Regions from separate parts of the Homo sapiens genome. Here all the other regions are linked to region 1. Evidence: promoter capture Hi-C in human tissues and cell types (Jung and others, 2019). All regions are on one chromosome and are shown on one strand. Each heading gives the region's core, a stretch centred on a gene start or on the middle of the fragment in contact. The rest is flanking DNA. Distances are from core to core; before and after follow the strand shown. Region 1 holds the start of NCOA6 (nuclear receptor coactivator 6). Region 2 holds the start of RBM39 (RNA binding motif protein 39). Region 3 holds the start of ERGIC3 (ERGIC and golgi 3). Region 4 has its middle 53 kb from the start of ASIP. Region 5 holds the start of UQCC1 (ubiquinol-cytochrome c reductase complex assembly factor 1). Region 6 overlaps UQCC1 (ubiquinol-cytochrome c reductase complex assembly factor 1).

Region 1 (4,453 bases), core at 775-3,274:
AGAGCGAAAGCCAAAGAGAGCTGCCATACAATCCAGCAATCCCATTCTTAGGTATACACCGGAAAGAAAGGAAATCAGTGTATGGAAGAGATCTGCACTCTCATGTTTACTGCATCCCTGTTCACAACAGCCAAGATTTGGAAGCAACCTAAGTGTCCATCAACAGATGAATGGATAAATAAAATGTACATATACACAATGGAATACTATTCCGCCATTAAAAAAGAGTGAGATCGTGTCATTTGCAACAATATGGATGGAACTGGAGGTCATTATGTTATGTGAAAGAAGCCGGGCACAGAAAGACAAACTTCACATGTTCTCACTTATTTGTGGGAGCAAAAAATTAACTATTTTTTATTTTTTTTTGAGACGGAGTCTCACTCAGCCACCTAGGCTGGAGTGCAGTGGCGCGAGCTAGGCTCACCGCAACCACCATCTCCCAGGTTCAAGAGATTCTCCCGTCTCAGCCTCCTGAGTAGCTGGGATTACAGGCACCCGCCATCATGCCCACCTAGCTTTTGTATTTTAGTAGAGACAGGGTTTCACCATGTTGGCCAGGCTGGTCTTGAACTCCTGACCTCAGGTGATCCGCCCATCTTGGCCTCCCAAAGTGCTAGGATTACAGGCGTGAGCCACCATGCCGGGCCAGGAGCGAAAAATTAAAACAATTGAACTCATGGAGATAGAGAATAGAAGGAGGGTTACCAGAGGCTGGTAAGATTAATGGGGAGGTAGGTGGGAAGTGGGAATGATTAACGGGTACAAAAGAATAGTTAGAAAGAATAAGACCTAGTATTTGCTAGCACAAGAAGGTGACTACAGTAAAAAACAATTGGCCGGGCGCGGTGGCTCACGCCTATAATCCCAGCACTTTGAGGGGCAGAGGCGGGCGGATCATGAGGTCAGGAGTTCCTGACCAGCCCGGCCAATATGGTGAAACCCCATCTCTACTTAAAAAATATACAAAAATTAGCTGGGCGTGGTGGCATGCGCCTGTAGTACCAGCTACTCAGGAGGCTGAGGCAGGCGAATCCCTTGAACCAGGGAGGCGGAAGTTGCAGTGAGCTGAGATCGCGCCACTGCACTCCAGCCTGGGCGACGGAGTGAGACTCCGTCTCAAAAAAACAAAAATAAAACAAAAAACAAAAAAAAAACCACACACACACAAAATTTACTTGTACATTTTAAAATAACTAGAGTATAATTGGGTTATTTGTAACACAAAGGATAAATGCTTGAGTTGCTAGATACCCCATTTACCATGATGTGATTACACATCGCATGCCTGTATCAAAATCTCATGTACCCCATAAATATATTCACCTACTACGTACTTACGAAAATTTAAAAAATACATCAGTGTAGTGTGGGAAAAAACAGAAAATTTTTAAAAAAGAGTGAAAGCCAGATATGAATCCAGGCCTGTATGACAGACATGAAGTCCAGTGCTGAGGAGGCCTTTCTACGTTTGGGAAGAGGGGAGGGGCCACACTCGTTCGATCAATAATTCTATTTACTGAGCATTTTAGCTTGCTAGGGAGGTAATGATGGGAAAAAGAAGAGAGGGATTTAGAGGCAAATAATAATGAAAGCTTTTATCTATATCCCATTAAGCTTATTATTAGACAGTATGTGTCAGGCACGGTGACAAGTGCTTTCCAAGCCCACCTCCATTTGCTCTTCACAAGCACTATGATTTTCCCCATATTTCAGATGGGTAAACTGAGGCTTGGAGTTGCCATGTCCAAGGATACTCAGAGCGCTCGCAAAAGACTGTGCAATGTGTGCTTCCGAAGTGGGACTCACTGGCGAGAGAATAGCCCTGGAAAGCCGACAGAGACCCACGAGATCCCAGCACTAAGCACTCAGCACCGAAGGGAGCTGGCGCGCGCTCCACCTCGCGCTCCCGGGGACGTCTGGTCACGTGGGCAATGCCCCGCCCCTCGAGTCCGCCCCGCCCCCTCTCGCGCTCCCTCCCTCTCTCCCTCCCTCCCCCTCCCTCCCCGGCCCGGTCCGGCCCATCCCCCTCCCCGCCGGCTCCGTGAGGCCCTGCCGGGTCGGGCTGCGGGCGGCCGGGCGCGGGCGGCGGGACAGACGGGCGCACGCGAGGACTGACGGACGGACGCACCGAGGGCGGCGGGCACGCACGGCCCGGGCCGGCGCTCCAAGGCCCGCCCGGGAGGGCCGGGGCCGCGCTCAGGTGAGGGGACGGCGGCGCGGGCCCGTAAGGGGTGGGCCCGCCGGGCGTCCGCGGTCCTTGTCGGGCTGGCTTCGCGGGGAGGAGGCGCCGCCCGGGCCCGCGCGGAAAAATGGCGCCGGGCGACCGAGTGGCACGGTCTGAGAGCGGGCCCGGCCCGGAGCCGCCCCGCCCGCCGCGCTTGTGTCCCCGTCGCCATGTTGGGGAGCGGGCCCCAGGCCTGCGGGCGGGGGCGCTGGAGGGAGCGGCGGCCGGGCTGGGTGGGGAGGGTGCTGGGCGCGGGGGCCGGTGCACTGAGGGAGTGCAGGGCTGGCCGGGGTCTGCACGGGGTGGCGCTCCAGGCCTGGGGAACAGGCGGGAGCCGGTCGTGGGGTCGTGGTCAGGGTCGCGGAGAAGGAACACTGGGTCCGAAGGGAACCGGGATTGGGGTCTATGGGCTGAGAGGATGGCAGGACGTGGAACTGGGTTAGGCCTTAGGCGGTGTTAGAGCCCTAATGCAGGTAGGACCTGGGGATTGGGGTGGAGGCATGGGGGCCAAGCTCAGGCTGTCAGGGCTGGAGCAGTTCTTTGCTGGGAGGGAAGGAGGTGATTGATGAGGAATGAGGGCCCTTTGGGTACAGACGCTGGTTCAGATTGGGGCAGTCCTTGGGGTACTGGGGCTGAATTGCAAAGCTGTATAACTCCCAAGGCTCTGAAGACTTATGTCCCAAGCATCCTCCACCCCCTCTTGGGGGAAGCAACAGGAAAAAGGAGGTGTTTGATGAGAGAAAAGGGGGACAAAGGGAGACTGAGGTTTGGGTGCAGGAGCTGGCCAGCAAAAGAGGCACAGAGAGTGGAACTGGTTGGCAAGGAAGGAGAGAACCTTTATCAACTTAGGGAGTTGTGTGTGTCTTTAAAAGGAGGGACCTGGCTGTTTGGGGGCGGTGACCCAAGGTGTCTTCCCTGGAAGGGGACAGCCCACAGCTTAAGAGCAGAGTCACCTGGAGAGGTCATCAGAAAGGCGTTATTGAAGCCAGTAAAATGGTGAAGAAGAGTGAATGTATAAAAACTACAAAGGCCTGAGAGATCAAGTAAAGATTTCAAATCAGGTAGTGATTTTAGCTGAAACATAGAAAGGTAAAGTTGACTTTTCAAGATCTTACAAGTTAGTGGCAGAGGGGTACTAGAAATTGTCGGCTGCTTCCTCACTAAACACATTGCCTTAAAGGAATTTGCTAGCTGGGAGAAAGGTGTTAAGAAATGAAGCATAACATTCTTGTGATGAAACTAAAAGCAAACAAACAAAAACAACAAGAAATGAAGCATAACAGTATATACCAGATAACTATTAAATTTGTTTTCTTCCTGTAATGAGTGTGGCAATACAAAGGCTGAAGGGAATACAAAAAAGTATAGGCAGCCAGTTATTTGGTATTTCCTGGTTCATCTCTAATTGTGCAAAGAAGTTATCTTTGAGACCTTCTAACTTTCTAGAGTTTTAAGAGGTGCTCCGGCCAGCCACAGTGGCTCACGCCTGTAATCCCAACACTTTGGGAGGCCAAGGTGGGAGGATTTCTTGAGCCCAGGAGCTGGCAGACCCCATCTCTACAAAAGAAATAAAAAAAATTAGCCACCTGATGTGGCTTGTACTTGTAGTCCCAGCTACTCAGGAGGCTGAGGTGGGAGGATCGCTTGAGCCTGGGAGGTCAAGGCTGCAATGAGCCATGCTATGGTCATTCCATGACATTCCTGCCTGGGCGACAGAGCAAGACACTGTCTAAAGAAAAAAAAAAAAGAGAGATGCTCCTTCTCTTCTAGGTGTTTACCACAAAGGAACACAAAATCCTAAAAAAGAAAAGTGAAAAATTGTAGACACCCAGAGTCTCTATTTTATTAATTGAAGTTGGATCATGTTAGAGAAGAATTCAAAGTTCGCATGGGCTATGGGAGAGTTCTGAAGGAAATATGCAAATTAGTCATGGAAAATAGGTCCAGGGCCCCATATAATCAAAGAGAATTAGCGAACAAAAATATTATGCGGGCATATATAAAATAAAACTGTCAATACCATATGTATATACAGCAACACAATTCATTTGTTCTGGGTTTTTCTTTTCTTTTCTTTTCTTTTTTTTCTGTTTGTAGAGTTGGGGTTTCAACATGTTGCCCAGGCTGGTCTTGAAATCCTGAGCTCAAGTGATCTGCCCACCTGAGCCTCCCAAAGTGCTGGGATTACAGGCGTGAGCCACCGCGCCCAGCCTATTCTGGGTTTTT
Region 2 (4,453 bases), core at 1,076-3,575, 920 kb before region 1:
CTTGCTATATTGTCCAGGCTGGTCTCAAACTCCTGGACTCAAGCAATCCTCCTGCCTTGGCCTCTCAAAGTGCTGGGATAACAGGCCATGAGCCGCCATGCCTGGGGATATTTTCTTTTAAACATAAAAAATACTTGTTTCAGAAACTTGATTTTTCCAAACGGCTTTTCTTGATGATCTGCTAAGTTGCCATATTGCCTCTGATGGTCCTTGAGCAGAAAACTATTTAAGGGACCTTAAATCATCAAGCGACTTAGAGCTTAAATCCTTCCTCTTCCCAAACAAGAAGTCTAGCGGTTAAGGTCAAATTCTGTCATGTCATGTTCCTAAACAAACAAGAAAAACCAAGTGCCATCTTCATGCTTTCATTTTGCACTAGTCATAATACTGGAATTACCGAGGGGCAGGAAGAGATAGCAAAGGTTAGCTTGCTTTATTTCTGACATATTATGCTTCAATTTCCTGTGACAGTTTTCTTTTCTTTCTTTTTCTTTCTTTTTTTTTTGAGATGGAGTCTCGATCTCTGTCACCCAGGCTGGAGTGCAATGGCATGATCTCAGCTCACTGCAACCTCTGCCTCCCAGGTTCAAGTGATTCTCCTGCCTCAGCCTCCCGAGTAGCTGGGAATTGCAGGCGCCTGCCACCTAGTTTTTTTTTTATTTTTAGTAGAGACAGGGTTTCGCCATGTTGGTCAGGTCTTGAACTCCTGACCTCAGGCGGTCCACCCGCGTCGGCCTCCCAAAGTGCTGGGATTAGATGCATGAGCCACTGCGCCCAGCCTCCAGAGCGAGACTGTCTCAGAAATAAAATAAAAAGAGGATCTGAATTTTCAGAAAAAGGATTAAGGGAGTATTCTAACTACAAAATAACTGTTATTAATAATCCTCTAAGATAAATCCTAACCTGTGTGTAAAGTTAACCTGAGAGGCAAAACCACTTAACATCTATATTTGCTCTAAATAATTTTGTTTAGCAGAAACAGAAGTTAGCTGTTTTGAAGATCAAATATTTACCAGGCGTTTTACAGACATTATATCATTTAATCTTCACTATAGCCCTTCTGAGCCTTCATTCATTAATTTACTGAGGGTCCACTTGGGCAGACATGCCCTGCTAACCTCTAAAAATTCAGTACTGAGCATTACCTGCCTTCCTCAGTCTCAAGTAGCTTAGACTAGCTACTAAGTACGTCCTCTTTTAAATCAGGAAATGAAAGATCCCCTCTGAGAGGTTAATTTGCTTGTCCAAGGTCACACAGTGTTGCAGCAGCTAGTTACACTAATCAAGGCGTCTCATTTCCAATCTTTTCTGCCCTCAATCATTAGACTGTTAAGATTAGAGGGTAAGATTTTTGCTTTGAAGACTTCTTTCCAGTTTTTTTTCCCAGCATCTAGGAGGAAACCTCACACAGTACTGACCAAAGAACAAATGGCTAATTCATACTCTAATTACCTGGCATCTAGAAGACTTCAGGGGAGAGGAGCCAGGTCCCAGGGGGAAGGGGGCCTTTTTTTTTTTGTTGGGGGGGTGTCTTATTTTTTCACCAAATCGTCCAGTAATATTCAGGAAGGGGAACATTTTTGAAGGAACGGTAGCAACCCTGACACAAGAGCTGATTAAATTCGGGGCACAAAACTGATCCCATGCCAAGGGAAGCAAGAGTTTATTTTTTCCACCTTTTTTTTGCTTTTCTCCACTATTTCCAAGGTTGTTTCAAAGCTCGACAGTGGAGGCCGCGCCATTGGCTCCAAATGACAGGGAAATCTATTTTTATTATCTCCCCCTCTCCCCCTACCCCTAAAGATCTCTTCTTCTGGCCTTCTGATACACTTTTCCACTTCCTCTCCACCCTCAGCGGATAATCTGAATATGGCCGTTTTATCCTATCGCCATAAGGACTAGGTTGCCTTATGGCGACCTTGACAGCCATCTGTGTGGGAGGCCGGAGCGGGGGCGATCGGCTGTGCCGGAGGAATCTTCAGATGGCCGTGAGGAGGCGCCACGAGGGGGAGGTGACCGCTGAGCTCCACTCAGCGAAGAGCTCTCTGAAAGATTGACAGGCAGCCTACCAACTGTCTTTGCCCTAGAGACCCGCTCTGTCTCGCGAGATTTGGGTGCTTACGCGGAGGGGGAGTGAAAGGCGCCTCACTGAATGGGGGATGGGAATATCTGTGGCGCAATCATTGCGCGAGATTGGGCTACGGTCGCCGGAGCCATACTTAGGTCTCGCGATACTTCGGCCGCTCAAATTTGGAGCTTGGGGCAGCTTCTCGCGAGAGCCCGTGCTGAGGGCTCTGTGAGGCCCCGTGTGTTTGTGTGTGTGTATGTGTGCTGGTGAATGTGAGTACAGGGAAGCAGCGGCCGCCATTTCAGGGAGCTTGTCGACGCTGTCGCAGGGGTGGATCCTGAGCTGCCGAAGCCGCCGTCCTGCTCTCCCGCGTGGGCTTCTCTAATTCCATTGTTTTTTTTAGATTCTCTCGGGCCTAGCCGTCCTTGGAACCCGATATTCGGGCTGGGCGGTTCCGCGGCCTGGGCCTAGGGGCTTAACAGTAGCAACAGAAGCGGCGGCGGCGGCAGCAGCAGCAGCAGCAGCAGCAATCTCTTCCCGAACACGAGCACCACAGGCGCCCGAAGGCCGGAACAGGTACGGGGCGTTGCGGACCCGCGTATTATCTCAGCTTTCTCGAGGTTTGGCTCCATTTTGGGCTGAGGGGCGCTTTTGGAGGTCTTTAGCGACCGGGGTGGGGGGTGGTTTTCGAGAAATCGGCCCTGTTTCAGTGACCGCGCCCTTATTTTCCAGTCGGGTATAGTCTGGATTCTTGGGGCGGTAGGGACCCCCGAGAGGCCGCGGTAGAATGGTGACCTGTCTCCTTCGAGGCCTGGGCCGGCCGCGACCTCCCAACATGGCGCCAGTTGAACGCTGCCTTGGCTCATAACCCCTCCCAATGGAGGGAGTTTCTCTTTGCCCCTAAAATGGCAGCGCGGGTTTTTGCCCGGAAAGAGGCGCTCTCGTTCGGGTCTCCCAGTTTCTGTTTTTGGAGTTGACAGCAGAGTTTTAAATATTGGATATTGAAGTCTTCATTTTCGTGTGTTTCGTGTAAGAGGCGTTTTGGATTTACTTACGTAAGCCAAACCTGGTTAAAGTGCATGTCACTTTAGTCATTAATTGTAGGGCTTTTGGAGGTTTTTCTTAAGTTTTCGAGTGTGTCGGCTGAGAAGAAAAATTCAGTCGATTTGAAAAACGTTTACCAGGCCGGGCGCGGTGGCTCACGCCTGTAATCCCAGCAGTTTGGGAGGCAGAGGCAGGCGGATCACTTGAGGTTAGGAGTTCGAGACCAACCTCATCAACATGGTGAAACCCCGTCTCTACCAAAAATACAAAAATTAGCCGGGCGTGGTGGCAGGCGCCTGTGATCCCAGCTATTCGGGAGGTGAGGTGGTAGGATCGCTGGAACCTGGGAGGCGGAGCTTGCAGTGAGCCGAGATCGCGCTACTGCACTTCAGCCTGGGCAACTAGAGCGAAACTCCGTCTCAAAAAAAAAAAAAAAAAAAAAGAAAAATGTTTACTCACGGAATCGTCTTGTTCTTTTCCTAGGCGTTTAGAGAAAATGTTAGACGATATAGGCAACAAGAGTGAAACTTGTTTCACATTGTAAGAGAAATGTTTACTCAAGAAATTGTCTTGTTCTCTTCCTAGGCGTTTAGAGAAAATGGCAGACGATATTGATATTGAAGCAATGCTTGAGGCTCCTTACAAGAAGGTGAGAAAAAACATGTCGGTGAGGTTTATATATTTCTTAATTTAGCATTATTCACGAAACTACTGCTGAAATGTAAACTAACCTCCCCGGAGCCCTCTTGATTTATCTTATCAGAGATGCATTACGTGTAACTTACAAAAGTAAATATATGCTATTGATGTAATAATATTGTGCAGTAGTTTCACTTCAGCGTGATGAATAAATGCCCATCTATCTCTCTTTGTAGACTTGCCTAACGATATCTCACCTCTACTCCCATGAATTCACCTTTGATTCCAGTGTGAACTGTCAATCATAAGGTAGTAATTGAGTGACTTATCGCTGTACCGTGGTCCCCTAGGTAAAATGACTCAACTAAGAATTACCACCTCCAGTTTGGTATAGCAAAAAGGTGAATGTAGTGGTTTGGGAAAAAGCAGGGGTCCAAGAATAACAAAGCATGACCAGTCTGTGGCAAGTTAAATCTTCTAACAGTCTTATAAGAAGAAATGGGTGAGATTTTAAAATTTATGTATCTATGTAAGACTGGTGATAGTAAATCTTAAAACAGTCCAGTGGCAATCTGCTGCTCAGTTAATAATTACTAAAATTCTTGGATCCCTGAATAGAAATTAAAAAAAAAAAATACAAGAGGCAGTAGAGTCAATACAAGCTTAATACAAGCTTAGAGTAAATACAAGCTTAGAGTCACT
Region 3 (4,453 bases), core at 381-2,880, 720 kb before region 1:
CAGTCCTATAGCAAATTATGTTGGTTCCACTGGTGTCCTGCATTAATCTGCTGAAACAACGAATGATAAAACTCCCCACCAGAGTAATCTCTAAGGTGTTAGAAATCCCAGCTTTGAGGACAGTTTGCTGTGGTGGGAAACTGAGTTAACGAAGGGAATTGGGAAGCCACCAAGATAAAGGAAAGGAAGGTAAAAGTGGGTACCCACTCTGTACCAGGCATTTTACACATATGACTTCATTTGATCTTACAATTCCATGTGGTTGGTACTACTGTTTTATTACCACTTTCTAGCTGAAGCTCACAGACTGCAGGAGACAAAGCTAGATGTGAACCCAGGCAATCTGACTTGAGAACCTAAATTCTCATTAAACCACCTGCATTCCAAAGGGGAAGAGCATTAAGGGCTGAATTAAGCCAATGGGCTGGGAAAGCAAACACTCAAAGAAGCCTGGGTCCATCTAGACAGTTCTACCAAGGCAAGAGCACATAAGACCTATCTTCAAACCTCTGGTATTCAAACTACCATCTGCAGGTATTGAGGACCTCTGAGAATAATAGCCAGGTAGATTACCTGACTCGATATGTATAGAGGATTTTAGCTCACTCTGACTCTTACTAGCTGGGGGACCCTAGGCAAGTCACTTGACTTCTCTAGCTCTTAGTTGTTTAATGTATCACTATGCCTGCCACAGTTCACTTGCTAGCAGATAGGCTTGGGTACATCCAGCTTTGGGATCTGAGACCCGGCCCCCTCCCCTGGTTACCATGCCGCTCAGCCTCTGAGCTCACGGGGATGCCATCTTTATCTAGTCGTTGCTTGAACAGGTTGTGTTCCACATCCAGCTGCTGTTCTCCGGCCACATCCATGGCATCAATACTCAGATCTGGAAGCAGGAAAATCAGGCTAAGGTACTGGGACCCTAGGGACAAGGGGATGTGGGTTTTGGAGGGGAAGGGGATACTGGGCCTGTCTTGGGGCAGAACGGGATGAGGAGAAGGAGGTTGTCCTGGGGTCCAGTCCAGAACCTAAGGGTGGAGGTGTGAATCTGGCAGCCCACATGAGAACCCTGGGTCTCTCCAGTCCCACCCATGGTGAGGTACTCACAGGCACAAGGCATGTGCGGAAAAAGTACATCGATGTTGATCTTCAGTTTATCTCCCCGCGACTTGTCCACGTAGAGCTCAGGATGCACCTGGGGCAGCGCTACCTCAGTAAGACTTAGCCCCAAACCTCTCCTTCCCCACTCCCACCCCTAAAGGTCCTACTCCTAGAATGCCAAGCCCCGCCCACGCACTAAGCCCCGCCCCTTACCTCCGTGGTGAGGTAATACTGCAGCTCGGACAGGAACAGTAGCAGCATGAGAAGGCCACTGACAATGGTCACTGCAGGACAAGGGGCGAGGGTCAGAATGGCCTCGAATCCGCTCCCTCAGACACCGGCAGGCCAGTCAGAGTCCAGGAGCCCGGGCTAAGCTCTAGGACGCCCCCCTCCACGCGACCCCGGCCCCGCTGCGGCCTACCGGTGGCGCCCCCGCAGGTCTTGACCCGGAAGTCCTCCAAAGTCTTGGGGTAGGCATCGAACTGCTTCAGCTTCCCCAGCGCCTCCATGGGGACCGGCCGGAAAGGGGACGCCAGCCGGCCCGCCCCTACAGACTCCCTCTTCCGGCCTGGAGCCACGCCCCCCTCTTTTTCCTCACGCAGGCGCAGCAAACCGCACGCTTGGCCCCACCTTTAGCCGCGTTCTCTTACAGGCGGCCCCGCCCAACGATGCTGCCACGCCCCCTTGCGCGGGCAATTGGGTCTGGAAGCTACTGCCCCGGCCTCCGCTGTCCGGGGCGGGATTTTGAGGACTGGGGTGCGAGGAGTTCTCTGCGGGGTTAGAAACGCTAATAGCACCGTTCGTGTGCCTTGTGCTCGGAACTGCACCAGGTGTTTAAGACTCTTGGAACATCTTGGAATATCCTGGAACAGTGGTTTTTCGAGTGTACCGGACCGGCCGCATCATTATCAACTGATTACCTATTAGAAATGCAAATAATTGATTCCCACCTACTGAAGCCGAAACGCTAGGAATGGCATCGGATGATTCTGATGTAAAGTAAGGGTGTCCGCCCTGAAAGCAGGTGTGACTTATCTCCGTTTTCCAAAGAGCAAACTGTGACCTGGAGAAGTTAAATAACTTGCCCAAGATCACAGCCAATTAATAGCAGGACCTGCTTCCAGCCCAGTTCTTCTGGACCTCAAAGTACTCTGGGAATCAGGGTCTTTTGGGTTGATTTTACCTAAACAGCGTCCCAGTGCTTCTCCTGAGCGCTGCTTTCTGAATATTACCCTAAATTGCTCTCCAGGCCCTGGGATCCTCACGGACACGCTCTATCCCTCCAGGTTTAGACTCAAGTGATATGGAGCTTAAGCTCTCCCTGACACTTCCCATTGCAGCCCAGTGTCTCTAGAGGGACAGCTCCCACAGTAATGCAGCTGCAATGAGTAAGATATAAAAGCTCATAGGCTTTCATACAGGAATTCCACTTTAGGAAGTAAAAGCACCATGTCAAGGTTAATAGAAAAATTTTGAAAAAGAAAAAATATGTAAGCAGCTATCCAAGGTTAACAGAAAAAAATTTTAATATAAGGATAAAAGTACCATGATCTGGGTGGTTGTTACACCTTAAGATATTGAATCTGTCTCTTAAAGATTTTAAGTGCACCACATCATAAAGATGTATGCATGAGATTGTTCAATGGCAAAAATCTGGAACCAGCCAGAATGCCCACTGATACATTAAATAAATTGAATAAATCACGATACACCCATTCTATGGAATATTAGGCCACTTTTCAAAAGAATGAGGTAGATTTACTCCTTTAGGTATACTAAGAATGTATTTTTAAGGGGGAAAAGATGCAAAGTAATGTGCATTCCATCATTCCATTTTTTAATTAAAAATTGGGCTGGGCACAATGGCTCACACCTGTAATCACAGCACTTTGGGAGACCGAGGAGGATCACATGAGGCCAGGAGTCTAAGACCAGCCTGGGCAACACAGCAAGACCCCACTCTACAAAAACTTTAAAAACTACATCTGTAACCCTAGCACTTCAGGAGGCCGAGCCAGGAAGCATCACTTGAGTTCAGGAGTTTGAGACCAGCCTGGTCAACATGGTGAAACCCCATCTCTACTAAAAATACAAAAATTAGCCAGGCGTGGTAGTGTGCTCCTGTAAACCCAGCTACTTGTGAGTCCGAGGCAGGAGAATCGCTTGAACCTGGGAGGCGGAGGTTGCAGTGAGCCGAGATCATGCCATTGCATTCCAGCCTGGGCGACAGAGTGAGATTCTGTCTCCAAAAATAAAAATAAAAATAAAAAAATTAGCCAGGTGTGGTGGCATGCGTCTATAGTCTCAGCTACCTGGGAGGCTGGGGTTGAGCCCAGGAGAGTTTGAAACTGCAGTTGTTACCAGGTTACCTGCAGTTGTTACCAGCATAGAGTTGTCCAGGTTCTTGGCGTGTTGAACAAAACACATAAAGTAACAGAAGGGCAACGAAAGACAAACAGCAACAGAAGAACGGAATAACAAAAGCATAGATTTATTGAAGACGATTCATAGCGGCAGCTGGTTAGAGCAAGCTGCTCAAGAGCCTCCTCAATCAGGGTTTGTATTAAGCTAAAGGGACCTGGCAACACCCCTAGGTGCCCTTTAGAAGCCTCCAGTTGGCTACACCTATGAAGGATTGGCCTGCGACCAAATCAGAGGCTGAAGTGGAGACTTGGCCCACAGCCAATCAGAGGCTGAAGTGGAGATTTGGCCCCACGGTCAATCGGAGGCGGAAGTGGAAACTTCTGTCTCGTTATCATAGGATTGAAGATGTGGCCTGTATGCTGCCTAGAACTGGCTGCACCCCTTCATTTGCTTATGTCTTAACCCCCGGTTACCCTGATTCCCTGTTCTCCTGCCTCATAGTGAGCTGTGATTACACCACTGCACTACAGCCTGGGCGACAGAGCGAGTCTCTCTCTCTCTCTTTGTGTGTGTGCATATATATATATATAATATATATAAACTGTTATATATATTATATATATAAACTTATATATATTATATATATAAACTGTTATATATTTTATATATATAAACTGTTATATATATTATATATATAAACTGTTATATATATTATATATATAAACTGTTATATATATTATATATATAAACTGTTATATATATTATATATAAACATATATATAAACTTATATATATTATATATAAACTTATATATATTATATATATAAACTGTTATATATAAACTTATATATATTATATATAAACTGTTATATATAAACTGTTATATATAATATATAAACTTATATATTATATATATAAACTGTTATATATATTATATATATAAACTGTTATATATATTATATATATAAACTGTTATATATATATATAT
Region 4 (4,453 bases), core at 593-3,092, 640 kb after region 1:
GGATTGCTCAGGATTGGGGCTCCTGAAGCCTTGCTGCGAAACACATCCTCAAGTCTGCACTGCCTCCCGGTGGCCACACCAGAGCTCAGCTCTGCACTTGGTATGGAGAAAAGACTGCATGGGATGTGTGTGTTTCTTCCGGCTGGAGCTCTTTGGAGACTCATCAGAAACCTTGATGAGATACAGAATTCCGAAGGAAGAGGAAGCCTTAGTGAGGAAGGGGGTGAGTTCTGTTTACTCTGAAGTATCTGTGGAATACACTGAAATATAGATATCTAGGAATCTGTCAAAATAAAAATCTAAAGGTCAGGAGAGAGATCTAAACTAGACATGCAGATAGGAGTGTTATTATCATATACGTAGTAATTAAAACCAGGGGAACAGATGAGATCACCCAGGGAAAATGGGAATAGTGACAAGGGCTGAGTTCCAAGGACTACACTCTAGAGTGGGCGGAAAGGTTTGGTGATATCATCTTATGTATTTTTCTGGGGCTTTGGAATTTCTCAACTCATTATCATACTCATTATCTTTCATACTCATTATCTTAATTCTCATCTGGGAGGTTCTATAAAATACCTGGTAAAACGAGGTGTGACTGGGATGATGCCAACACTGCAAGAAATCCAATCTATCGGACAGGCAGGAGGTGGGGCCTGGACACAGTGTCACAAGGGATAGTGATTCCCAATGGTAGGCTTGAAGCCCCAGGTTAGCATCACACGGAATGACTCCTAAGAGCACTTGAAGCTCTTGCCTAGGCTATTGGTGAAGAGCATAGCTGGTCCATGGCGCTGGGTTAGAAAGGCTGTTGCGGGACAGTGGCCAACCTGACAAAAGCTCTGCAGCGGGAGCTTATCTCCAGAAGCAGATGCAGCCTGCCTGCCTCTGCATGTCCTACAGGCAGCAGTCCACCGGACCGAGCTGAGGAATGGTCTTCCCAACTGGGAAGACAGGCATCCTTTCCAGAGACAGAAATATGGCAACCAGAGTACTTGCTCCTTTCTGAGTGACTGGGGTTGGTGGGAGACATGAAGCCTGACCTGGCCCTACAAGGAGGTCTGTAAGGCAGAGGGGTAGAATGCAAGGCAGAGATAAATGCAATGAGGTGACTCCTTTGGTAGAGTCCCCACTTCCTTCAGTTGGTCTCACCTACTCTGAACGTACTTCCTCCCATAGTATTTCAGAGTTTCCCTGTGTTATAATGTGTTATTGTGCACCTATTCACATGCTCCCTTGAGTTCCTCAGGCTGTTCATCCGTGTGGCTTCTCCAGGGTTTGCCTAATACTTAGGGGGAGCAGGGCCAGGTGTGGTGGCTCATGCCTGTAATCCCAGCACTTTGGGTGGCCGAGGTGGGCGGATCACATGAGGTTGGGAGTTTGAGACCAGCCTGACCAACATGGAGAAACCCCGTCTCTACTAAAAATACAAAATTAGCCGGGCGTGGTGGTGCATGCCTATAATCCCAGCTACTCAGGAGGCTGAGGCAGGAGAATCACTTGAACCCGGGAGGTAGAGGTTGCGGTGAGCCGAGATCACGCCACTGCACTCCAGCCTGGGCAACAAGAGCAAAACTCCATCTCAAAAAAAAGAAAACAAACCTTAGGGGGAGCAGTTAAGCTACCCACATGGCCAGAAGTTCTAGGCACCAGACCGTGGCTCTGCTCCTTATTGCTTGAGGTTTTGTTTAACCTCCCTGAACCTCAGTTTTCTCATCTGAAAAATGCCTCACGGTCGTTGTGAGAATTAGAGAATACTCAAAAAGTCTAAATGACAGCACTCGATAGTGTCATTATTGTGACAGTTTCATCTACTACAAATATATTATCCTGTCTTTTTAGAAATTTCTACCATTAAAATGACTCTTTAGGTTAAAGATCTCAGAGCCCTATCATAATGCTTATAGGGAGAAGTATGGTTCTTATTATATTATTGGTCATTATCATGATCCTGAATTGGTTTAGGTAAAGCAGAGGGCAGGAATGGGTCACAAATAGTAATTTTGTTTGGGCTCCGGGTGGGGGAAAGAAGTGTCTCCCAAACTTCAGTCATTTGAATAGCAATGTCAGGATTTCAACCATATCTCCAACCCAGCTATATTATTATTTACTCAATATTTTTCTTTAAATCAACTAATAACTTTTTCAAAGCTTAAATACATTCGTGTAAATTGGAAAATTTATAGCATGTTACTGTCATTTTTCATAAACAGAATATAATCCTAGAAAAAATTAATAATACAATGTCAATAAATTCTAAATAACTACTGTTACCAGGAGAGCACTCCAGTTCTGAGGTCTATTTTCTTGATTAAAAAGGAATATGTTAAAAGGGAATAAGTTTTGGAATATGTTAATGACACATCAACCCCCACTGAGACTTTCTTCTAGATGAATCCAGGCTTGAAAGCAAATTAAAAAGGAAATTACTTTTCCATGATGTGATAATCTTATGCTTGTCCATCTACCGCCTAAAGTCATCTTCTGTTTAACTTAAACCATCTCACATACCACCAGCAGTACATGTTCTAAGCTTTCGGAGACAAAAGGGCTGAAAGCAGGCTAATGAGTTCCCCAAGTAAACTGAAAAAACTAAACTGGCCAACTTCACCTCCTTTACGATTTTGTGTAAATGCTCTACCATCTTGCGTATAATTTCGTTTTTGTATCCCCTTTGGGAACTAGGATAGAATGGCACACATAAATATGCTCAATAAATATCGGGATGCTGGGTATGGGTAAAATGGTAGCAGAACAAGTCGATCTGAATAGGACCCTGGAAGTGCGAGGGGAAGATGGGTTTTCTGAAATACACTCCCTCATTTCCCACAGCCAAACAATTACAGGCTCAGCCTGAAGTCTAAACAAGATGTGGAAATGCCATACACAGCAGAGGAGAATTGGTTCTAAGGACTGAACTATATGAATAATAGTTATTTCTCTCCTTTTGGACTTGGAGATCTGGCTTTTCATAAATAACTATATTTACTCTTGTAATGGTCCTGCCCCATTTTCAAGTGATAGAGTAACTCCAAAGTATCTTTTCCTCTTAAAGGTCATTTATAGTAAGTGATGTGCTTCAGGAGTGTCTTGCACTGAACTGAAAACAAACCATCAAGGAACACTCCTCACCTGCCATATCCAAAAGGCACTCTAGGTTTGTATCCACTGTAATATATCTTCTTGATTTTGTACAGATAACATTAGCAATGGATACATAACATCTGTCACTGCCATTTATAAAATAAAATATCTGAGTCTCTCAAAGACAGTTTAGGAAATTCACGATCCTCCTAAGAGAAAGACGAAAACACCGTCAGTAGATTCTCAGCCCCAGGACAGGCCAGCTTAAAGTGATTAGGCTTGTGGACAGAGATTAAACTGACAAACCTTACACACTTGGCCCTAGCCTGGAGCAGGGGATTGATTTTTTCTCTGAGAAGAACTTTAGAGGCCAAAGGAAAAGACAAGTTGAAAAGAAATTCCTCTCTGAACAGTTACACAGCTAAGGCAAAGATTTCAGAATTCTGCCCCGAGAATCTTTCTTCCCAGCCTAGTTTAGTGCTATGACCAAATACAAAAAAAAGAACCAATTTAGGACTACCACCAGAATTATTTATTTATGACTCTCACACCCCTTTGTGGATCACTGATGGCAAGTTCTAAGTGACTGATTGATTGGTTCTCCTTTGTGCCTCATTGATCAATCAGGGCATTCCCAAAGACTACTAATTATTTCAGTTTTCAACCCAAGTTAAACATAATCAGGAAGTTAAATCCTACTGCTTCGGATCATGAGGTCAGGAGATCGAGACCATCCTGGGTAACACGGTGAAACCCCGTCTCTAGTAAAAATACTAGGTGCCACCAGGTGTGGTGGCACGCACCTGTAGTCCCAGCTACTCAGGAGGCTGAGGCAGGAGAATCGCTTGAACCCAGGAGGTGAAGGTTGCAGTGAGCCAAGATCGCACCACTGCACTCCAGCCTGGCAACAGAGCGAGACTCCATCTCAAAAACAAAAACAAAACAAAACAAAACAAAAACAACCTACTGCTGCCAAAGCTACCCCAAATTCCAAAGTCAAATATAAGTGAATTGTGGATTGTCTACTGTCTAGAGAATTCTTACCAAGCTCCCAATAGAAAAATGAGAACTGGCCTCATTATTAAATCATGTCACCATCAGTGGCCCATTTTCTTTCCAGCTTTGGTGATGACATCCTTGTATCAGCAGAGCAGAGTTAAATTGTCAGATTCCCAAAGCAATTTCCCTTTGGACTTACCTGTAGATATTACTGAGTAGGAAGGATCGGTGAACTCAGGGTCCAGGCTACCAGCGACTTTGGTAGCCTGACCAAAGCTGTTCACTCCCTTCACATTGCTTTTTATGCAACCCCGGACTATTAATGACTTCCAGCTGTGGGGCGATCCCTCTGACCACTCTGCCTGGCTTC
Region 5 (4,453 bases), core at 926-3,425, 590 kb before region 1:
TTGCGCTCCAGCCTGGGCAACAAGAGTGAAACTCCGTCTCAAAAAAAAAAAGAAAAGATCTATTGTATAACATGGTGACTATACCCACTATGAATATGTATTGTATTCTTGAAAATTGCTTAAAGAACATATTTTAAACATTTCCAGCACAAAAATATGAGGTAATGCATATATTAATTAGCTTGACTTAGCCATTTCACAATGTATACATATTTTAAAACATCCTGGCCGGGGGCACGGTGGCTCACTCTTGTAATCCCAGCACTTTCGGAGGCCGATGTGGGTGGATCACCTGAGGTTAGGAGTTTGAGACCGTCCTAGCCGAAATGGCAAAACCCCGTCTCTACTGAAAACACAAAAATTAGCCAGGCGTGGTGGTGCGCATCTGTAATCCCAGCTACTTGGGAGTCTGAGGCAGGAGAATCGCTTGACTTGGGAGGTGGAGGTTGCAGTGAGCCGAGATTGAGCCACTGCACTCCAGCCTGGGCGACAAGAGTGAAACTCTGTCTCAAAAAAAAAAAAAAAAAGAAAAAAGAAAACATCCTGTTGTACACAATATATATTTTTTGTCAATTAATAAAAATCAATAAATTTAATTAAAAAAATAGTCGAGTGAAGTTATTTCCCATGACTAGCTCCTCTTCTTCCTTTAGATTTCATCTTACATGTCACTTTCTTGGAGAGGCCTTACCAACCTAACCAAAGTAGCTCCCCAGTTTTAATTTTTTTCACTGGGTTCCTATGCCTCCCCCACCAGTCTAAGAACTCCATGAAGCCAGTATGTCTTGTGTTCAGCACATAGGGAAGACTCAATAGGTCTTTGTTGACTGAATGAAATGAAAGAAGTCCTTCAACATCCTGCCCCTCTGCTCCCTCAACCCCCAAAGCACCAGTACTTTGTCTTCTCTTCTCTTGGGATGTAATGGAAGAGGAGTCTTCTACCAAGGCCGTTCTCTGCCACTTTCCTCAAGAAGCTCCTTGCCTCTTTGATTGATTCTCCTGTATACTCTTTTTTTTTTTTTTTTTTTGAGACGGAGTCTCGCTTTGTCACCCAGGCTGGAGTTCAGTGCCCCAGTCTCAGCTCACTGCAACCTCTGCCTCCCGGGTTCAAGCGATTCCCTGCCTCAGCCTCCCAAGTAGCTGGGATTACAGGCACACGCCACCATGCCCGGCTAATTTTTTTCGTATTTTCAGTAGAGACGGGGTTTCACCATATTGGTCAGGCTGGTCTTGAACTCCTGACCTCAGGCAATCCACCTGCCTCGGCCTCCCAAAGTGTTGGGATTACAGGCATGAGCCACCGGGCACGGCCCTGTATACTCTTCACTAATCTTTTCCTATCAATATGCAAAGATGTTTCCCTTAAACAACCAACCAACCACAAATCCCAAAAGTTTCTTCCTCTACCAGGCTTCAGATCGGCACATGACCGCCTTCTTGCCTTGACTTTCAGGAGTCTGGTATCCCCCGTATTCTTTTATCTTAGCCTCCTTCTCTGGCTTTTTTTTTTTTTTTTTTTTTTTTTTTTTTGAGACAGAGTCCAGTCCTGCTCTGTCGCCCAGGCTGGAGTGCAGTGGCGCGATCTCGGCTCACTGCAACCTCTGCCTTCAGAGTAGCTGGGATTACAGGCACACACCAACATGCCCGGCTACTTTCTTTGTATTTTTAGTTAGGGACGGGGTTTTGCCATGTTGGCCAGGCTAGTCTCGAACTCCTGATCTCAGGTGATCCGCCCGCCTCGGCCTCCCAAAGTGCTGGGATTACAGGCGTGAGCCACCGCGCCCGGTCTTCTGGCTCTTTCTAAAGATTGGGATTTCCTAAAGTCCTGTTCTTTTCAACCTCCATTGAAAAGTGTTGGGGTGGAGTTTGGGAAGGAGGGGCTGAGGAGTGAGGCTGGGTTAGGTGGGGAATAAAGAGAGGGATATGAGAAGCCCCGAGGTCTGGGGTCAAGGAGACAGGCGTGGGGGAAGGATTTGAACCACTGTTACGTGTAGTGGGGGAGACAGCAGGGAGAGCGTGCCCGGGCACGACAGCCTGGTGCACAGCCGAGAAAACAACAGCGCGTGCGCGTAGCGACCTCTTTGCGCCTGCGCCCCCCTTGCCAGTCTTTCGCCGGCAAAAGGAGGACGTAGAAAAGGGGACACCGGAAACTCACTCTTCACCCGGAAATGGTTATTGAGGAACATGGCGTTGCTGGTGCGAGTCCTTGTGAGTGAAGGAGTAATTTTCTACGGTAGCTCTCTGGGTCCCGGGTTGGAGTTCGACAAGGCAGGGCGGGAGGAATTGGAAGGAATCGCAGGAGGGAAGCCTGTGTTATAGCTAGGCTGAGTGGCCGCTTTTCCGTGGGGAAACTGAGGCAGCTTCCGACCTCTTCCTACCCCGTTTTGACCTTAGCTCCCCCATCTTTCGAGAAGGGGAAGACTGACATCTGGCCTTTATTTGATGGGGTTTACTTTTCCTTCCCTCCCCCATGTACCTGCTTCCCCTCAGGGAGAGGAGCATGTAGGACACTGATTGGAGTTTCAGGAGGCCTGGGTTCTAGTCCCTGACTGTCACTGATGCATAGTGACTTTAAGCAAGTCACTTTTGGGCCTCATTGACCCTATGTGAAAAACGAGGACATTTATCTCCTGCAGTCCCTTTAGATTCTGAGATTCTCAGGGTTTCTTTCATAGGTAATAAGTCAGTTCTTAACTGTACAGTTAAGTGGAATATAGATTATTAGATTGAAAGCTGCGTGAGAATTGGAGTCATGTCTGTCTCCGTCGTTTTCACTTTGCCTAGCATGGTGTCTGGCACATCATAGGTGTTAAATGATTACTTGTTGAATAAATGAATGAAGTAAGGAAAGACTACCAGACTCTTTAGCACCCGTGTGTGAAACTACTGCACCTCTTGAGATTTAGTCCTGACCCTTCTAGCATACTCTTTTCTCTAGCAATTAAAGGAGAAAAGAAAGTGGCAGCAGAAAAAACGTTAGGATACAGAGCTTAGTTTTTAATCATGGAGGGATGGGAGAGTGTATAGTTTTAGCGAGTCTTCAAAAACTGGGTCAAAGACACTGTTTTTCATAGTAGACATGGTCTATTCCTGTGTCTAGGTAACTTCTGAATTGTTATTTTACATTTGTGTTTTTGATCTTTTTATATATGTCTTACAAGGACGACAGTTTTACTTCTTGTATTCCTTGCCAGCCTAGCAGAGTGAGGTACCCTCGACTGCTGTTCAGTAAATATTTATTTGTAGAGTAGCCCCTGTAACTGCCAGAAAGATTCACCTGGTGAAGTGATTGTTTGATTTCAGGCCAGAAATTGATTCAGAAATGAGGACTGCTGGGGAAATGGCAATTAGAATGTTCTGAATTTAGTGGTTTTTTTTTTTTTTTTTTTTTTAATCCTTCCCCTGCCACCCTTTAGGGTTTTGTTTTTTTTTTTTTTTTTTTTGAGGCAGAGTCTTGCTCTGTCGCCGAAGCTGGAGTGCAGTGGTGCCATCTCGGGCTCACTGCAACTTCTGCTCCCGGGTTCAAGCAATTCTCCTGTGCCAGCCTCCCGAGTAGCTGGGATGACAGGCATGCACCACACCACACCTGACTAATTTTTGTATTTTTTTTTTTTTTGAGATGGAGTCTCGCTCTGTCACCCAGGGTGGAGTTCAGCGGTGTGATCTCGGCTCACTGCAACCTCTGCCTCCTGGGTTCAAGCAGTTCTCCTGCTTCAGCCTCCCAAGTAGCTGGGATTACAGGCGCCTGCCACCACACCTGGCTAACTTTTGTATTTTTAGTAGAGATGGAGTTTCACCATGTTGGCCAGACTGGTCTCGAACTCCTGACCTCATGATCCGCCTCCTGCGGCCTCCCAAAGTGCTGGGATAACAGGCATGAGCCACCGAGCCTGGCCTGACAACTATCATTTTATAGGGCACTTACTACGTGCTAAGCACTTTAAAATACTTACCTAATCCTTATAACATCCCTTTGGAAAGGAGGGCGTGTTATTTCCTCTATTTTACAGATAAGAAAACTGAACCACAGAGAGGTATTCCTGGCCAGGTGCCGTGGCTCACACCTGTAATCCCAGCACATTGGGAGGCTGAGGTAGGTGGATCACTTGAGGCCAGGAGTTCAAGACCAGCCTGGCCAACGTGGTGAAACCCTGTCTCTACTAAAAATACAAAAATTAGCCAGGCCTGGTGGTGGGCGCCTGTAATCCCAGCTACTCGTGAGGCTGAGACACGAGAATTGCTTCAACCCAGGAGGCGGAGGTTGCAGTGAGCTGAGATTGTGCCACTGCAGTCCAGCCTGGGTGAAAGAGTGAAACTCTGTCTGAAAAAAAAAAAGAAGTATTCCTGAAACATTCTTGTTAGTCTTGCTTTATTTTTTCCTCTTTTTGTCTTGTCAGCCAATATTTTCCCTTCTCCAGTGATGGTTTTGGGAAGGAGGAGGAAACTAAAACAC
Region 6 (4,453 bases), core at 507-3,006, 550 kb before region 1:
CACCATTTTAACAAGTTGGATTCAAATTAGAATTTCAATTTTATTATAGACTTCTACTTGTGGTTTCTTCTTATGGTGTCTGGTTCTCTTTCTAACAATTCTCACTACAGCAAATATGAGCTTCTCTCTATAATTACTCTTTTACCTGAATTCTGAAAAGTGAACAGTAATTCCACAAGCATTTTGTTTTTAAGGAGCTTTGAAAAAATATAGAAAGAACACAAATACTGACAATGATGTTCTTGAGTCCCTAAGGTTATGAAGTATCTTCTTAATTGCCAATGAAATATTAGTTATGTTCTTTAAAGTTGTATTTTTTAATATCTTAATTTTTGACACTTGATAATTGTTGATATACTTGGTAATGTTTTTAACCAGAATCTTTTCCCCTATTAAAAAAATGTTATGCTTATGGCATTTGGATTTACAAACTTAAAGTATATGTTTTGTTTGAAAATTAGAAATTAAGAGGGAAGTCAAAACAAAAAAAAGAAAAGAAACATTTACAGTTTTATTCATTTCTTGGTGATTGGGTTCCACTTGGTTGCTACCATATGTTTTGTCTAGGCTGTTTTTTAATGATTCTAGAGAGAAAATTGGCTATCATTTGGAGGATTACTAAATCATCAGGAAAATTCCTTTGCTCTTTTAGCCTAAGTTAGCCTCTGATTTTTCTTGGTTCCCTTGTGACATCAACTAAATCCCTAATGTTTGCATTTTAAAACTCTTGTGATGTGATGGTGTGTACTTTCTATAACCTTCATTTTATTTTATTTAATTTTAATTTTATTTTTTTGAGACAGAGTCTCACTCTGTCACCCAGGCTGGAGTACAGTAGCGTGATCTCAGCCTACTGTAACCTCCGCCTCCCAGGTTCAAGCAATTTTCCTGCCTCAGCCTCCTAAGTAGCTGGGACTACAGGCGCATGCCACCACACCTGGCTGACTTTTGTATTTTTAGTAGAGATGGGGTTTCACCATGTTGGGCCAGCCTGGTCTCCAACTCCTGACCTCAAGTGATTCCGCCTGCCTTGGCCTCCCAAAGTGCTGGGATTATAGGATTGAGCCACTGCGCCCAGCCTATAACCTTCATTTTAAAATTTGTTACATCACAATATCAACGTATGACATTCTAGTGTAATTGAGATGTGAAAATGTATGTGTAACTTTTCATTTTGAAAAACAGAACCGTTTTCAGCAATGTTGACTCAAATCAATGCACTTGTATTGGATTGCACTGGCAAAATTATTTGTTTTGTGTTTTCACATGTATTTGATTAGGGAGTAAAATACCTGCATGTCTGTCCACATCAGCAGTATCAGCTATCTTTTCTCTATCTTTTTCTTTAGGTTTCATGTGTTATTCCCATGTTTGATAATCATGTTTAGGATCTTAAATGTAGCTTTCCCTTACCTATTTGAGTATCTTGGAATCATCATTTTAAAAAATTACCTTTATATGCAGTATCAGGTGAGATAAGCACAATATTTACCCAACTCAGCCACATGCCATAGAATAGGTTTCCATATTAGCATTAAGCCAAAAAGTTATTCCTATTCTGAAGGACACTGACAAACTGGAATGTATTCAGAGGTAGGCAGTGAGCCTTATGAACATTTCAGAAACTGTTAAGAACGGTTGAAGGAAATAGGGATGCTTAGCCTGGAAAAGAGAAGACAGGATGATTCTTCTCAGGTATTTGAGGGGCAAATGTGAAAAAAAGAAGGTATTCCAGTGGGCAGAATAATGTTCAATGAATGTTATATGAAGCAGATTTTAAGTTTAGCAAAATAAGAATCTAACAAGAATTGTCCTCAGGTGGGACAGGTAGCCTTACAAGGTCATTGGTCTTGTTTGAACAGAGGCCCAGATGGTTGACTGTGAATCAAGAATGCTGTAGAAGGATTTCCAGTAGACAATAGAAGGTTCAAATTACTTAAAACACCCTTCTAACTCTTTTTTATCTTTTTTTGAGTTGGAGTCTCGCTCTGTCGCCCAGGCTGGAGTGCAGTGGCGCGATCTCGGCTCACTGCAACCTCTGCCTCCCAAGTTCAAGCAATTCTCCTGCCTCAGCCTCCCGAGTAGCTGGGATTACAGGTGCCTGCCACCACGCCCAGCTAATTTTTGTATTTTTAGTAGAGATGAGGTTTCATCATACTGGCCACCCTGGTCTCTTGGCCAGGCTGGTCTCAGAACTCCTGACCTCATGATCCGCCCACCTCGGCCTCTCAAAGTGCTGGGATTACAGGCATGAGCCACCTTGCCAGGCCCTTTCAAACTCTTACATAGCTGTTAATGCAAGCATTTTACTAGATTTGTTTTTCATCCTGTAGGATGTTAAAAAATGCATTAGTTCGTGGGAGAGCAGATTTTCATTTCCTAAAGCTGTTCAAGGTGCCTCTCTTTTACTCAAGTAAAAGATGACTGATGAAGTCTTCTAAAATTAAAATGAAATAAATATGAAGTCATCCAAGGACCAGAACAACTTGTATTGACTGGTTGAAAATTCAGTCCCCCTACGTCCTTAACTCAGATCAGTGCATGATTCTTGATGAGGTTCTTTCCTCAAGTTATTATTTCCAGTCTCTGTGTGATAGTCTTTAGAGACTTGTTTTAGAGATTTGTCCAGGAAAATGGCTCACCCAAGTATAAAGGCTTGGCCTTGCAGCAGGAAAAGTGAAGAACTATAAAATGCTCCTGATTGCCATAGCATGAGCACTGAAAACATACTCTGGCCAATCTGGTGAAGTCTTCATTGTTTGTGATGAATGCTTTTTCACAAACGTGTTGTTGGGGAAGCTTCCTTCTCAAGGAAAGACTTGGGCCTTGGGCCTTGAAGGCAAGTCTCCAGGCAAGGTGATTAATTATGAACCCAGGACTTTATATATAGGAATCTGAAGGAGATTACAAGATTTAAAAAAATCAAGAAATAGATGATTAGAAATTTTAGTTAAAGTTACATACTTGTCTGTAGCTGAACTGGGCCGTAAGCTCCATGAGAGTAGAGATTTTTGTCTGTTTTGCCCACTGCTCTATTCTCATCATCCAGATCAGTGCCAGGCACTGAGTTATGTACTCAGTGAATTATTGGATGAAGTGAGGAGCTAGGGCAGATGTCCTGAACTCCCTGTCTTAAGGATAGGAGTAGGCCTGTCAAGGCCAAATTATTAGGATCATGATATTATTAGATTATCATTAGTTTGGTAATGGCACAGACCAGTGCTTCCCAAGATGTGTTCTGTGGTCAGATACTTCCTAGAACTGCAAGTGTTAACAAAATTAAACAGGCTTTTTTTGGTCTGTTGATATGGTGAAACTGATTGATTTGTCAGTGTTGAATTATCTTTGCATTCCTGGGATAAATTTCACTTGATTATGATATACTATCCTTTTAAAAATATTGATGGATTTAATTTTAAAATATTTTCTTAAGGAATTTTGCATCAATGATCTATGTTCATGAAGGCTATTGTTCTGTAGTTTTGTTTTCTCCTAATGACTTTGATTTTGATATCAGGATAAGGTTGGCCTTATTGAATGAGCTGGGAAATATCCTTTCTTCTTGTTTTCTGGCAGAGTTTGTGTAGATTTCGTAACATTTCCTTTTTTCCTTTTCTTTTTCTTTTTTTTTTTGTTTTGTTTTGTTTTGTTTTGAGATGGAGTCTCACTCTGTCGCCAGGCTGGAGTGCAGTGGCGCACTCAGCTCACTGCAACCTCTGCCTCCTGGGTTCAAGCGATTCTTCTGCCTCAGCCTGGGACTACAGGCGCGTACCACCACACCCAGCTAATTTTTGTATATTTAGTAGAGATGGAGTTTCACCATGTTGGCCAGGATGGTCTCAATCTCTTGACCTCGTGATCCGCCCACCTCAGTCTCTCAAAGTGCTGGGATTACAGGTGTGAGCCACCGCGCCTGGCTGATTTCATAACATTTCTTTAGATGTTCAGTACAGTTCTCTAGTGATGCTATCTGGGTCTGCAGTTTGCATTGTGGGGAGGTTTTTAAAGACAAATCCAATTTCTTTAATAGATACAAGACTGTTCATGTTATTTATTTTAGTGAGCTTTAATAGTTTGTATCTTTCAAGGAATTTGTCCATTTCATCTAAGTAATCACATTCATTGGAGTAAAGTTGTTCATAGGATTCCCTTATTATCCTTTTAATGTCTTTAGGATATGCAGTGATGTCTGCTCTCTGATTCCTGATACTGAAAATTTGTATCTTATGTGTTTTGGGCTTTTCTTTTTCCTTGATCAGTTTTATAGGTTATCAATTTTATTGATTTTTTTTTTGAGGCGGAGTCTGGCTCTGTCGCCCAGGCTGGAGTGCAGTGGCACAATCTCGGCTCACTGCATCCTCTCCCTCCCAGGTTCAAGTGATTCTCCTGTCTCAGCCTCCCAAGTAACTGGGATTACAGGCGCCTGCCACCATGCCTGGCTAATTTTTGTATT

The links. The method cuts DNA at HindIII sites, captures the fragments that hold promoters and counts their contacts. A contact is called where the count stands out against the background at its distance.
Region 2: the fragment with the promoter of RBM39 here is called in contact with the fragment with the promoter of NCOA6 in region 1 in 2 of the 25 tissues and cell types used here (dorsolateral prefrontal cortex and hippocampus).
Region 3: a contact is called between the fragment with the promoter of ERGIC3 here and the fragment with the promoter of NCOA6 in region 1, in 1 of the 25 tissues and cell types used here (bladder).
Region 4: a fragment that was not itself captured here is called in contact with the fragment with the promoter of NCOA6 in region 1 in 2 of the 25 tissues and cell types used here (IMR-90 fibroblasts and lymphoblastoid cells).
Region 5: the fragment with the promoter of UQCC1 here is called in contact with the fragment with the promoter of NCOA6 in region 1 in 5 of the 25 tissues and cell types used here (heart left ventricle, heart right ventricle, hippocampus and 2 more).
Region 6: a fragment that was not itself captured here is called in contact with the fragment with the promoter of NCOA6 in region 1 in 1 of the 25 tissues and cell types used here (lymphoblastoid cells).

What each region holds. Positions count from the first base shown.
Region 1 is chr20:34,823,222-34,827,674 of GRCh38, reverse strand. It overlaps NCOA6 (nuclear receptor coactivator 6), which reads left to right and starts at 2,024. Exons shown (of 15, transcript NM_014071.5): 1 at 2,024-2,203. RefSeq lists silencers at 1,918-2,107, 2,118-2,557. The HindIII fragment of the contact is 14,831 bases long and covers 1-4,453 here.
Region 2 is chr20:35,740,132-35,744,584 of GRCh38, reverse strand. It overlaps RBM39 (RNA binding motif protein 39), which reads left to right and starts at 2,325. Exons shown (of 17, transcript NM_184234.3): 1 at 2,325-2,644; 2 at 3,698-3,761. The coding sequence starts at 3,711. RefSeq lists enhancers at 1,886-1,985, 2,156-2,375, 1,737-2,422, 2,436-2,585 and a silencer at 2,846-2,945. The HindIII fragment of the contact is 31,582 bases long and covers 1-4,453 here.
Region 3 is chr20:35,539,255-35,543,707 of GRCh38, reverse strand. ERGIC3 (ERGIC and golgi 3) reads right to left here and starts at 1,630. Exons shown (of 13, transcript NM_015966.3): 1 at 1,523-1,630; 2 at 1,315-1,385; 3 at 1,108-1,195; 4 at 767-886. The coding sequence starts at 1,610. RefSeq lists an enhancer at 1,869-1,958. The HindIII fragment of the contact is 35,337 bases long and covers 1-4,453 here.
Region 4 is chr20:34,186,391-34,190,843 of GRCh38, reverse strand. It overlaps a transcript of ASIP not described here. Among named protein-coding and RNA genes, the nearest start is that of ASIP, 53 kb to the left of the region's middle. The HindIII fragment of the contact is 6,445 bases long and covers 1-4,453 here.
Region 5 is chr20:35,409,695-35,414,147 of GRCh38, reverse strand. UQCC1 (ubiquinol-cytochrome c reductase complex assembly factor 1) reads left to right here and starts at 2,175. Exons shown (of 10, transcript NM_018244.5): 1 at 2,175-2,208. The coding sequence starts at 2,185. RefSeq lists enhancers at 1,940-1,989, 1,197-2,019, 2,120-2,269, 2,330-2,429, 2,020-2,843. The HindIII fragment of the contact is 20,339 bases long and covers 1-4,453 here.
Region 6 is chr20:35,376,149-35,380,601 of GRCh38, reverse strand. All of the region lies in intron 4 of UQCC1 (ubiquinol-cytochrome c reductase complex assembly factor 1), which reads left to right. Among named protein-coding and RNA genes, the nearest start is that of UQCC1, 34 kb to the left of the region's middle. The HindIII fragment of the contact is 4,785 bases long and covers 1-4,148 here.